2 separate regions of the Homo sapiens genome follow, and region 2 is linked to region 1. Evidence: promoter capture Hi-C in human tissues and cell types (Jung and others, 2019). All regions are on one chromosome and are shown on one strand. Each heading gives the region's core, a stretch centred on a gene start or on the middle of the fragment in contact. The rest is flanking DNA. Distances are from core to core; before and after follow the strand shown. Region 1 holds the start of TMCC2 (transmembrane and coiled-coil domain family 2). Region 2 overlaps NFASC (neurofascin).

Region 1 (6,500 bases), core at 3,098-5,597:
CCTGTGTAAGTCTTAGGGATGCTGTGAGAGAAATGATCACAAAGTTAGTAATCTGGGTTTGCTTACTCCTTTAAAACATTGCCAGTTTGGGCCAGGCGCCGTGGCTCACACCTGTAATCCCAGCACTTTGGGAGGCCGAGGTGGGCGGATCACCTGAGATCAGGCATTCAAGACCACCCTGGCCAACATGGAAAAACATTTTTAGTCTCTACTAAAAATTAGTCCGCAAAAAATTAGTCAGGCTTGGTGGCAGATGCCTGTAATCCCAGCTACTCGGGAGGCTGAGGCAGGAGAATTGCTTGAACCCAGGAGGCAGAGGTTGCAGTGAGCCGAGATCACGCCACTGCTCTCCAGCCTGGGCGACAGAGCGAGACTCCATTTCCAAAAAAAAAAAAAAAAAAAAAATTGCCAGTTTGGTATCAGAGATTCTGTGTTTTGAATGAAATAATGTATACAATTTCTGCATAAATATAGTAATGGCAGCTTTATTTCTAAAGGCAAAAAATAGAGAAAATTATGTCAAAGGATGAAGTGGATAGTATGTTAAACCATGATATCTTCAGTTGACAGAACATTAAGCAGTCATTTAAAATGTTTACTTAAACATATGGAATATGGCTAATAATATATGGAATAATATGGGAAAATGTAATAATGTTGAAAATGCTGCTGAGTACATTTCAAGTAAAAAATAGGATAAAATTTAGTTTAGGCTAATAAGAGCTTTCTCCAATCAGGAGTGATATAGAGCCTTCCTGGTCCTCTCTTCCTTTTACAATAGCCAGTAAAAAGCCTGTATTTAGGTGGTGGGATTGTGACAACATCAACAATCCAGACAATCTTCTTAAGGATTATTTGCATAGTTTACTCTTCCTAATCCAACAGAACTCAATTTCTTTTAAGGAGTGCACTGCGTGGAAGTGGTCATCTCCAACAAAAAGGGAAGAGAATTACATTAACAAAGGAGTATATGCAATGATATTGGTATCAAAATTCAGTGAGCAAAATTATTATATCTAGTCCCTCTAGAGAGTACTTTTACCTTTGAATCACTCTACTCAGTATGTTAAATCTTAAAATAGCGCACTGACAACCACTTATCCATTTGATGTTTAAATGTTTTTTTAAGTATTGCTATGGAATAGGACATAGAATTGCCTTGGATAATCTGCAAGCTTCTTACTATTGGCAAAAAGAGAAGCCTTTTATTTTTCAGACCTAATTGCTTTTACAAAAAGAAAGAAAACAAAACAAAACCCTACTCTACACTTTGTTAATCTTGGCACCTTATCCTCTATAATGAAAGCTTCAACCATTTATCAAACTAAATGAACTGGGTGTTGACAAGAGAGCAGGATTCCATAATTCTGCCCTTTATACTCCTTGTGTGTATACTTATTGGTTTAGCAAATTTGATACTACCAGAGTGCTCCCTTTCATTAGTTTAACTGGGATTTCTGTTCACAAAAAGCATTCAGCTTATTGGGATAATTCTCTTTCTCATATGGTATATGGGGGGCTTGGACAAGTTAATTATTTTTGTTTCACTTAGTTTTACTGCACATATACCATGTGTCAAGCATTTTCACGTGCATTATCTACCTTCATCCTCACAATAACCAGTGAAGATAGATAGTATTAGCCCTGGTTTATAGATGAGAAAACCGAGGGTGAAAGAGGTTAAGCTCACAAGAAGTAACCGAACTAGAATGCTTACATGAATTTTCTGACACCAAGACCAATGTTCTTCCCACTAAATCATGTTATTTCCTTGTAATTAACTAGGTGTGCCAAAACAGAATGGAAATGCTACTCCTACATAGAAAATATAATCACTTGCATTGTGTATCTGCAAACTTTTGTCTAATCTTGAATATCAAAACATAATTTGTGCCTATATTTTCCCAAAGAAACGTAGAATGATAGAATAATCTAATGCCGTAAACAAAATTTCAACCAACCAAAGTACTTTCAAGTTCTGATTTTCTTAGGTGCTCAAGAATTTGCTGCGGCTAATGAAAATTTGCCATTGGCTTCAAACTGGTGGTTATAGGTCACTCAGGTCTCTACACAGACTTCTCAGCCAAACTTCTTTGGCAGTAGCACACTTATTCCATAATATGACACTCAGTGAAAGTCAGAAATTGGTGGGACACATTTGAACTCCTGAAGATAGAAGCATTGGAGTGAAATGTGCAACACTTCTGAAACTGGATGACATCTGTGGTTATAGCTATGGCCCTCATTCTTTGCTAGGCAATGTCCAAGTGCTTTACATATATTACCCAACACCCTGTATGGTAGGTACTGTCATTATCCCTACTTCCAAATAATTCAGAAACTGGAGCATGAAGAGGTTAGATAACGTGTCCCCACTCACATGGTCAGTGAAGAGCAGAGCTAGGATTTGTCCCCTATCTGGCCATAGAGCCTGAGCTCTTAACCATTATGCTATGATGCCTCTCCAAAATGGAATGTAAAGTATTAGCTGATTTTATGAAACACACCACAGACTTTTTTGCTGACCTGAATCACACCTTGCAAATATGACGACAAGTAGAAAATGTGGCTGTCATGCTGTATGTATATGATAATATAAAAATCAAACTTAAGACCAACTTTTATCTAGTATAGAAATGAGGCATAATTCAAAATTATAATGCTCTCTGCTTCCTTAAACGAAACCAAATCCCTTCCTTAAACCAAATCCCTTCACTTTCCTTCGGCTTCGAGTCAGGTCATGAACATGTGTCAATGCATGCTCACCATTTGCTGGCCACCGCGTGCCCCTCAAGACTTGCTCAGGGTCTTTGGGGCCGCTGCACTTATCTGGGCCAAGTCAGGCAGGGAGCAGTATATTCCTCTGCTTGAAACCTTGCACCATGGGAACCTGCCCCCACCGGTTCTGTCTAGTCCTGCCCACGGTCTACACTGGCATCCTGCCATCCCCTCACCATTGAAAATGCTAAATAAAGGCTTATAGCTTTGTGTTTCCACATTGTGCTCGATTCTTTGTGGTAGATGTGGGGGGTGGTTCCACATTCCCAGCCCATCCTAAATTCCTATCTTCTAAAAGTGGAGCTGCCTAGTTTAGAAAGTAGCTGCTTGGCTGAAGTAAATTCTTAACAAATTAGTCTCTTCTAGGATACACATTAAAATGAGTGGTTGGAATGGGAAGAAGACAGAACAGAAAGTCAAGAAACTCCGACTAGTGAGACTGAAGTGAGGCTACAATGGCATGATGGGTGCGAAAGAGATTGGTAAACTGTAAAATCCTTTAGAGACCGTGTGGCCCCTTCACTGTCTAGGCCAGTGGTTCTCAAAGGGTAGTGTGTGTCAGAATTACCTGGAGGGCTTGTCAAAACACAGATTTCTTGGCTCACTACTTCTGATTCTCTAGGTCTGGCTGGTGGCCAAGAATTTGCATTTCTATCAAGTTCCCGTGTGATGCTGAAGTTGCTAGTCCAAGGATCACAATTTGTGAACCACTGGTTGCTGGATGAGTAAAATCCATTGTGTCCACAGGAGGCATACAATAGACACTCAGATGGGGTTGTTATTATTACTACTCTCCATATCTTGGTAACCCCAACGTTTGCTCTCTTCTGCTTCCAGATTACTCAGCACAGTTTGGCTGAGATTTATGCAAAGAGAGACAGCATTCCCTTTCCACACATCTATATGTAGCAACCTCCTGCCATTAATACCCTTTCTTATTTAAAAGCTGCTTCACAGTTTGTAAGGAACTCTCACATACGTTATTGTGTTTTTATATGAAATTCTTCCCAATTTCTGAGCATAAATTATGCCAAGTAAAGTCTCATTAAGAAATAATGCACTTAAAGCGGGGGACGGGGCGATGAGGAGAGAACGCCCCCTCCCCTTGGCATTTGCAGCTCTGAATGTAGGCATAGATTTAACTCAGACCAAGTATCCTAGAGGGGATAGGTGTCTCCCTTATGGCTAGAAGGTGCAAAGTTAAGAGCCCCAAAAAGCAGTGATAATAAACATCCCTCTTGTGCTCCTTCTCGCCAAATAAAGCGAATGGGTGGAGGAAATCCTGGGCGAGCCCTCCTCGGCAGGGTCCCTCAAGCTGGAGCCGAAACTGCGACTCCCACGCCCGCCGCCCCCGCCCCTGAACTGCAGCCCGCTCTCTGCAATGCAAAAACGCAGCAGCATCGTCCTCCAGCCCTCTCCTGGGGGATCGCACGGTGCAACCAACCCCAAAAACGAAGCTGCGCGACGCCCCCTCAGCCCCGCGGGCTTCCCATTGGCCGGTTGCCGCTGTCACTCCCTCCTAGCCTCGCCTTCCCGCTCCCGGGCGGAGGCAGCCGGGCGGGGTAGGTTGCGCGCTCGCCGCGGGCTCGGGCCGCGGTCGCGGCTTTGCGGCAGGCTGCGCGTCAGGCGGGGAGCGGGGCGCGCGGGCCGGGGAGGGGGCCGGGCGCGCTGCGGGCTCCGCGGCCGGACCATGCGGGGCAGGGGCCGGTTGCAGGGCCGGGGGCTGCAGCCGGCGCCGATGGCGGCCGACTAGGACCTGCCCGGCCGGCTGCCCCGCGCCCCGCCTCGCCCCGCAGCCCGGCCGGCCGGGAGGGATGCGCTGTGCCGCCCAGCTCCTCTCCGTCCTGCCCATGCCCTGAAGCAGAAAGTTTGGGGGCCGGGGGTTGTCTCCCTTCTCCCTCCTGCAATGACTGCCCAAGGACTCTTGCTGCCCAGCCTCGACTGTGACCTGTCTTCGCTCCCCAGGTCGAAATGAACTATTCCAAGCTATAACCAAGGCTCCCCCTTCTCGCCCCTCCCTCACCCGCCTTTAAGAATTTTTTTTTTAATTCAAGAAATTGTGGTCTGCCATCTCCCCTCCTTGTTAATAATTTAGACCCCAGGCCTCATATGAATATAAGAGGGGGTGCGGTCTTCCCCAAGACGGCGCGCTGGAAGGACAGATTCCCCTTGCCGACCCACATACACCATGAAGAGGTGCAGATCGGACGAGCTGCAGCAACAACAGGGCGAGGAGGATGGAGCTGGGCTGGAAGATGCCGCTTCCCACCTGCCGGGCGCGGACCTCCGGCCTGGGGAGACCACGGGTGCTAACTCTGCTGGCGGGCCAACTTCAGACGCCGGCGCTGCCGCGGCGCCCAACCCAGGTCCCCGAAGCAAGCCTCCTGATTTAAAGGTGAGCGCAGACCATCCCCCCGGCAAGCCCAGCCCGCGACTTAGCTCTCGCCACCCCACGCAGAAGTGCTTTAACAGGATAAAAGTGAGGGGGGAAGCCAGGCAAAGGTCAGAGAGGATGAGCGGATGCTTTGCTGGCACCCCAGGGGGGACGTCAGGTACCATTTATGCCTCTGTCTTTCAGCTCCGTGTCAGGTCTCTGTGTTTGTTCCCCATTATTCAGCAAGCGTTTTAGTGACTCACCCATCCGAGATTGTTTGAATAATGTGTGAAGTGTTATTCGCAGACAAAGGGCTGGAGAAATCCAAGATGCTAACCAAAAAGTGGACAGCAGGTGACCATTAGTTTTCCTTGCTGAGTAAGTCTCTACCCATTGGGATCTTTGTGTGTGTGTGTGTGTGTGTGTGTGTGTGTGTGTGTGTGTGTGTATGTGTGTGAGACGGAGTCTCGTTCTGTCGCCCAGGCTGGAGTGCAGTGGCGCGATCTCGGCTCACTGCAACCTCCACCTCCTCGGTTCAAGCGATTCTCCTGTCTCAGCCTCCAGAGTAGCTGGGATTACAGGCACCCGCCACCACGCCCGGGTAATTTTTGTATTTTTAGTAGAGACGGGGTTTCGCCATGTTGGCCAGGCTGGTCTTGAACTGACCTCAGGTGATCTACCCGCCTCGGCCTTCCTAAGTGCTGGGATTACAGGCGTGAGCCACCGTGCCGGGCCCCATTGGGATCTTTGAGCGCTTTCCTGGATGAAGCTCAGTTTGCCGATCTGTGAAGGGGCGGGGGGGGGGGGGTGGTGGCGGGGGCGGGGGGGGAAGGTGGATTTCCTGCCGTTAGGTGGAGCCAGAGGTTAAGATAGTGCTTGGAGATCTCTGCCTGCCTGCTGAACCAACCCCCAGGGTGGAGAACTGACAGGTGGTGGAGCAGTGCTTGGGCTGGTTTGGGGCCTCAGTTCAAGTTGCATACATGCTGAGCCAGCAGCTAGAACCAGAAGCCGAAAGAACTGTTCACATGGAGCTGTTTATTTTCCGGCCTGAGGTTGCCGAGACAATTGGCGAGCTGTCTTGAATATATCTCTATCAATTAAAACAGCAGCTGAGATAAATAATGCACCTTTGCCGGAACTGCCACAGGGACTGCAGGCTCAGGCTTCTCAAGCCAGCTCACCGTCCAGCTGAGCGAGATGTCAGCCCAAGGAAGGAACTTAGATGCCTTGGAAATTGATGCCTCACAGTTATTTTCTCCAGAGAAGGTGCAGGGTCTGGGCTAGGGAAACGGAAAGGACTCTGTTGCATTTAATAAAGCCTATATCCTATGGCAGCAGCCACTAAGGA
Region 2 (5,979 bases), core at 2,321-4,820, 210 kb before region 1:
GCACCGCTATGGTCCCACCACTGAGACCCAGACTCCCACTGCTCAGACCCAGACTCCCACTGCTCATCCTGAGCTGCCTCCTGCCCAGGAACTGGGCTAACCTCTGAAGTGCAGCCAGCACCACCTGGTCCCCACTCTGAGCCTTTCCAGCCAAGGGAAGGGACATGGTGCCTGAACAGACGCTGGCTCAGAGAGCAGCCCCGCGCCTCCTCAGGAGCACAGCAGACATCCCAACTGGGTGGCTGTTCCCAGCGGCCCGTGCAGCTTTACTCGGCAGCCTCCCAGCTCTCCCTGCACAAGGGGAGCTTAGGGTCAGGGCCTATGGGCCTCAGAAGGGGCTGGGCATGATCCTCTGAGCCTTGCTGTCTTCTCACGTTTGCTGGCATCACCTGCTTACCTGTGTGCCCCCCCACCACCACCACTCTTGCGCACCTGTGCTTGCTAGGCCCAAAGCAATAACATCTTTTTATAGATCAACCAGATAGCTCAGCGAAAGACACCAAGACAGACAAGCAGAGAGGTGAGGGAGAGGTTTGTTCCTTTAAAAGCCTTGCTTGTTGTCAAGGCGAGAGTGTTTCCCTACAGAGTCACAGGTCTTGGGAGATCAAAGCTGGGCCAGCCCCTCTTGATGGACAGACTGAGGCCCAGGTCACAAAACCACACAGTGACACACTCGGGACTAGAACCATTCCATGTGGTCTCACAAGCAGTGGCTCTGCCTCACCATGGGGTGGCCATCCTCTGTCCACTTCCACCACACACAGGGACCCAATCTCATGGAAAAGACCCAGAACAGGAGCCCAAAAGCATGGGCTCCACTCCCTGCCCTGCCCTGACCTGCAACCTCACCTTAGAGAAGGTGCTTGTCCTCTCTAGGCCTCCATTTCCCTTCTGCAAAGCAGGCTGGACAGGGGAGGGTGAAGCGGGGGCTGGACTGGGCGGTCTCCTGGATCCCATCCTCTCTGAGCTGTGTAGGGCATGTGCTGGCAGGAGGCCAGCTGCCCCATCTCACCCCACCTGAGATTCTCTGTCTCTCTTTGGCCAGTGATGAGGACAACAAGCCCCTGCAGGGCAGTCAGACATCTCTGGACGGCACCATCAAGCAGCAGGAGAGTGACGACAGCCTGGTGGACTATGGCGAGGGTGGCGAGGGTCAGTTCAATGAAGACGGCTCCTTCATCGGCCAGTACACGGTCAAAAAGGACAAGGAGGAAACAGAGGGCAACGAAAGCTCAGAGGCCACGTCACCTGTCAATGCTATCTACTCTCTGGCCTAACGGAGCCCACCCAGGCACAGCCACCACTTTGCAAGTGGGAGGAGGGGAGAAGGGGAGACAAAACCACTGCAGACCTACCACGAAGCCACCACCACCTTCAGTAACAAGGGTACGATATGGGGGTCTGCCAAGCTGTGAGGACCAGTAGCCACCAAGCCACCCACAAGCCCCCTCCCAATGACCCCCCTTCAGCCCCGGGTGCCACCAGTGTGGGAGAGCTGGAGCCGTGGCTGAGCTCAGCTGGAGGGAGCCTGGCCCCTTGCCCGGTCTCGCAGCCACCCCGAGCGTTCCACCACACTGTCCGCCCTTGGCCTCGGCACACGCTCACCTTTTCTGTTGGTTACGGGACTTCTCATTGTCTTAATTTCGCTTTGTGCATCTTCCCCTCCAGACCCAATGTCTCTGTTTTCTTTTCCTTTTGAAAAAGAGTCCCTGGAAAAGAAAGAATAAGTGGATTCTCCCCCAGGAGAATCCTTTTTGCAAAGATAGGCAAAAAGGATTGAATCCATACCAGAACACGTAGACAGGCTGTAATATTCAAACCACCTCTGGGCCAATGCATTTCCAAAGGATGCCTTTCTCGCCATATGCCTCCCCTGGCCCCCAGCCCCTCTGCCTCGGCCTTGTCAGTTGCTGAGCTGGGCTTGGCTCCTTTCTGGAAAATGACAGTATTTTTGGCAGGGAGAAGGTGCGCAGGCCTCCTTGCTGCTCTCTGGTTTGGTTGGGAGGTGTGTTTACCTCTTGCTCCTCATTCCTCCCCTGCCCTTTTCTCTGGAATATCTAAGATGTGAGCTGCATTGACTCTGAAGACGTTTGAGGAACAGGAGTGGGCACTGATAGAAAGGACTTCAACGCCAGTGACTGTGTACCTCCAGCAGAAGAAAATCAGGTGTCTGGTCTTGGGGGCACTGTGCTCACTTCTAGAGAGAAGAAAAAGGCTGGGTTTGGACTTCATGCCTCCTCACTGGTGAAACCCAGGATGTAGATAGAGGGCCACACCCACCCTGTCCAGAGTAGAGGGCACCTGTCCACGTGGCCAGGGCCCATGCTGCCACCCTCGAGGAGATGGAACCCTGTGATGCAAAAGCTTTGCTGGTGTGTTTGGGGCATAAGGCACTGCTCCCCTTCCATCTCTAGCAGATATCATCTTCTCAGCCAATTCTGTAGGACACTGAGGCTCTTGTTTGACATGGTGTGTGGATGGGGACTTGCCCCAAGACTGAGCAGGTCTGCCCTTTCATTGGGGTGTATACATATCAGGGGACCCTGAGGTGGCACCGTACTCAGTGTTGTGATGCCCCCACCTAGGGAGGACTCAATGCTCTTTGTATGCCTTATGCAGCGCTGATCTGTCCCTGGAGTTCCCAGGTTCCCAGCTCCCCCCCTGCAAGCCTTGAAGCCTCCAGCAACGTCTATCTCCAGGAGAGCAGGGCAGCCTATGCAAGTGTTCCGGCAGGACCAGAAGTGGCCACTCAACACACGTCCTCACCAGTCACCCCAAATGGAGACACTCGCAGACCTGCAGTTCTCAGACCGAAGGTGCTGCCTTCATCCTCCCCACCTAATGCATTTTTGAAACCAAAGGTACCTAGCCTCAGAGACAGAGAAGGAGAGGGGGAGATCTTGAGTCTAAGAGGAACCCTTTAGCTGTTTCTGCAGCTGAGGTCAGTTTCAGGAGGGTGAAGCTGATCCCCAGGAATGGATCAGCTGCCATGGGCACAGCCTCCGATTTGAGCCTCTCCGGCTGCCAGCCAGGGGGCCTGGGCCAGACCAGGGCTCTGTCCTTCCGTGACTTTATTAAAGCAACATTTGCCACATGTTTAAGCCGCAAAGGTATTAGCAATGCTTGCATCATTAATAATCATTCAGTTGAAGGTCAAGCCCATAGACACACACTCTCTGCTGGTAAGAAACCATAGCCCAGAACTGAGCCAATAAGGTTGTTTGAACCTGAGAGTGTGTAATGGTCATTTGGGCCAAGCCTCAGCTAGGGCTGCTGCCTGGACGCCTGAGGGGCAGCTTATCACAGTGCAAGGGGACAGGGTAAACAGCAGGGGGTGGGGTGTGAGCTTGGAGGGCCCCTCCCCTGGATTTCCTCCAACACCTGCTTGGATACTAGGCCCACTGTCCCTGAAGGGAATGTCAGGGAAGTGTGCCTGTGAGCTGAATTAAAGGACTGGCCTTTCCAGAAAACGCTTTGGATCTGAGCAGAGTAGTCAGTTTCTCAGACACTCATTCCATACTGCACCGTACATGCCAGCGTACCCATTGCACCGAAAGCAGGCCCTTAGGGCAGGAAGGGACGATGAGCAAGTCTGCCACACCACCTGGTGACTGGGAAGGGCTGCTTCTCTCGTAAGGGTCTTGGGGAGAAGTAAGCCCGCAGCCTGCCTCTGCACCTCGTTCCAGTGTCCTGCCAGGCTCTGTACTGTCCTTTGTGTATGAAGAAAATGCTGTTAGCCCTCTCTCAGGCTGCTGTTCTGTGGGTGCTGAGAGCTGCCCCCCATCACCACGCCATCACACCCCTCTGAGCAGAAGCAAATCTGAGGCTGAAGAATTAAGTTTTCCCCAAGCAAGGAAGGCAGGTGGTCAGAGAGATCAAACGCTGAGGCGTGGGGATTGCAGGATTCAGGAGGCAGCCCCTTTGGGGAAGAGGAGGGTGCATTTTCCATGGAGCCCATGTCAGAGTCCACTCCAGCTCAGCAGGAAAGTGGAATTGCCCAGTACTGCCTGCCAGCTGGGTCTCCCAAGCAACTACCCCAAGACATACCAACAGTGAAGCCAGGACAGCACCATGCCATCGGCGCTCCAGTCTGTCTGGCTGGGAGGAAAGTGCTGGGCATCTTACAGTAACTCTAGAAGTTCCTTTGACTAGGCTGCAATCCCACCTATATGCTCAGCCCTAAGAGCTGTGGTTTCCTGTGCTCTCATTTGTCCATTCATTCATTCATTCATTCATTCAGCAAATAATCTGAAATCCAGTCTGAACTAAGGCCTGAGCTGTGGATACCATGGCGCGTGAGTTAGATGTGGTCCCTGCCCTCATGGGGCTGACAGTCCTAAAATCAAGTGCTAGGACACAGTGGCCATTGAGCTGGGAGCATTCTTCCCTCTACCGCTTAAGCCACTGATGGCTGCGAGCTTGAAGAGAGGGATTCTGAGGGAGAGCTTGGTCCATCTGGTCACCAAGGCTGGGCGGGACAGAGCAGTCAAGAACCACGGTGTGGCTTGAGAAACAGTCCTGCTTCCTGAGCCTCTTTGCTCTGCCTCTTGGGGCAAGCTCCTTAACCTGTCTGTATTTTTATGCCTCTGTCTCCCATTCAGTTCCTCCTTGAATACCTCTTTCTACAGAGAGGCACGGGCTCCCCTGAAGGATTGTCGAGGCCAGGGTTCGGGAAGTACACTGCCATCGGTCAGGGGACAGCTGCCTCCCACCTTGCCTGGGTGATGGTGAATGGGACTCATCTTTTCCTGCCTTGCTTTTGAGGAGATGGTTGAATTTAAGCTAACAGGAAAGCCAAACCAGCACCCTCCTTTGTGCTCTGAGAGGTTGGAGACATCTGGTCCACCCCATTGCCCCTGCCCCTGGCAAGCCCTGAAGTCGGGAGAGGTGACCACAGGTCTGAAAATCAGCCAGTGCCAACATTGCTTGCCCTGCAAGGTGCAACTGAGCCCACATAGCGCATTCATAGTTTCCCTGACCACAGCCTTGGGAAGACGGTGGAAACCCGAGGATGTGTGGGTTTCCCAGCTAACGGACAAGCTCCCCTGCCACACCCAGTGCCCACGCATGCTCACATACATACAGCAGACCACAACCCTGTTGCCAAGCAGTGCTTCCAAGGGATAGCGATCCAGATTCCAACATTGTCTTGGAGAGGGTTAGTCCACATCCAAGTTGCGTGAGATAAGATGCAAAGGGCTCTGTGTGGATGAGGAACGCACCTTAGAGGAGTGGGAAAGGCCACCAGGGTTGGGCCCTGTTTAGGTAATTCCTGTTGGCAGCACCTAGAGAGAGCATCTGAGCTGAAGGAGTGGGAAACTTTGCCCAAGCAATGGCACGGGCAGCGGGCTCTTTCTGGCGCCCTGTGCTGGAGCAGGGCCAAGTCTTAGGGCATCACAAACAGCCCATTTGATGGAGGGAGCAGGGACATAGCACATTTTTGTCTGTCTTTGTGAGGCTGCTTTGCTAACTCTCTGAGGAGAGGAAGCCTCTCGGGCTTTCCGTCGGCTGGGGCTAGTGCCAGAGAATCCCTTCTCAGTGGCCAGCAGGTTCCTGGGAGGCCGGCACAAGGCACCGCTCCCCACTCATGACACCTTGGTGCAGAGTGACCTCCTGCCCAGTCACCACTCCGGCCAGCCCCAGCCAAACACACAAAAGCCCATGGTTGCGGTTGCATCTACACCGTTAGTTGGCAAAGGATCCTGCTTGAGCTCTGCGTGGTGGCCAAGGAGTAGCATGGAGGAGGGCCCTGATTTTAAAAAGGAAAAATAGAGAGGCCTCAAAACAATGAAACAAAGAGCTTGATATGTCAAGAGGAGACCAAGGCCCTGGGAGGCATAGGCAAGCCGGGCAGAGTCAGACCAGTGCCCTCCCTTGACCATCTCCTAGCATTCCTTAACCTAGACAGGGGCTACCCCATGTGAGTCCAAGCCAGACTTTGTGGCTGTCCCCAGCCTGCACAGCCCAAGCCCAGGGAAG

The links. The method cuts DNA at HindIII sites, captures the fragments that hold promoters and counts their contacts. A contact is called where the count stands out against the background at its distance.
Region 2: a contact is called between a fragment that was not itself captured here and the fragment with the promoter of TMCC2 in region 1, in 1 of the 25 tissues and cell types used here (dorsolateral prefrontal cortex).

What each region holds. Positions count from the first base shown.
Region 1 is chr1:205,223,599-205,230,098 of GRCh38, forward strand. TMCC2 (transmembrane and coiled-coil domain family 2) reads left to right here and starts at 4,348. Exons shown (of 5, transcript NM_014858.4): 1 at 4,348-5,173. The coding sequence starts at 4,967. RefSeq lists an enhancer at 3,999-4,138 and a silencer at 4,269-4,448. The HindIII fragment of the contact is 10,382 bases long and covers 1-6,500 here.
Region 2 is chr1:205,015,263-205,021,241 of GRCh38, forward strand. NFASC (neurofascin) reads left to right here. Exons shown (of 30, transcript NM_001005388.3): 30 at 1,046-5,979. The coding sequence ends at 1,277. Among named protein-coding and RNA genes, the nearest start is that of CNTN2, 25 kb to the right of the region's middle. RefSeq lists enhancers at 2,723-3,520, 3,521-4,316. The HindIII fragment of the contact is 9,872 bases long and covers 1-5,979 here.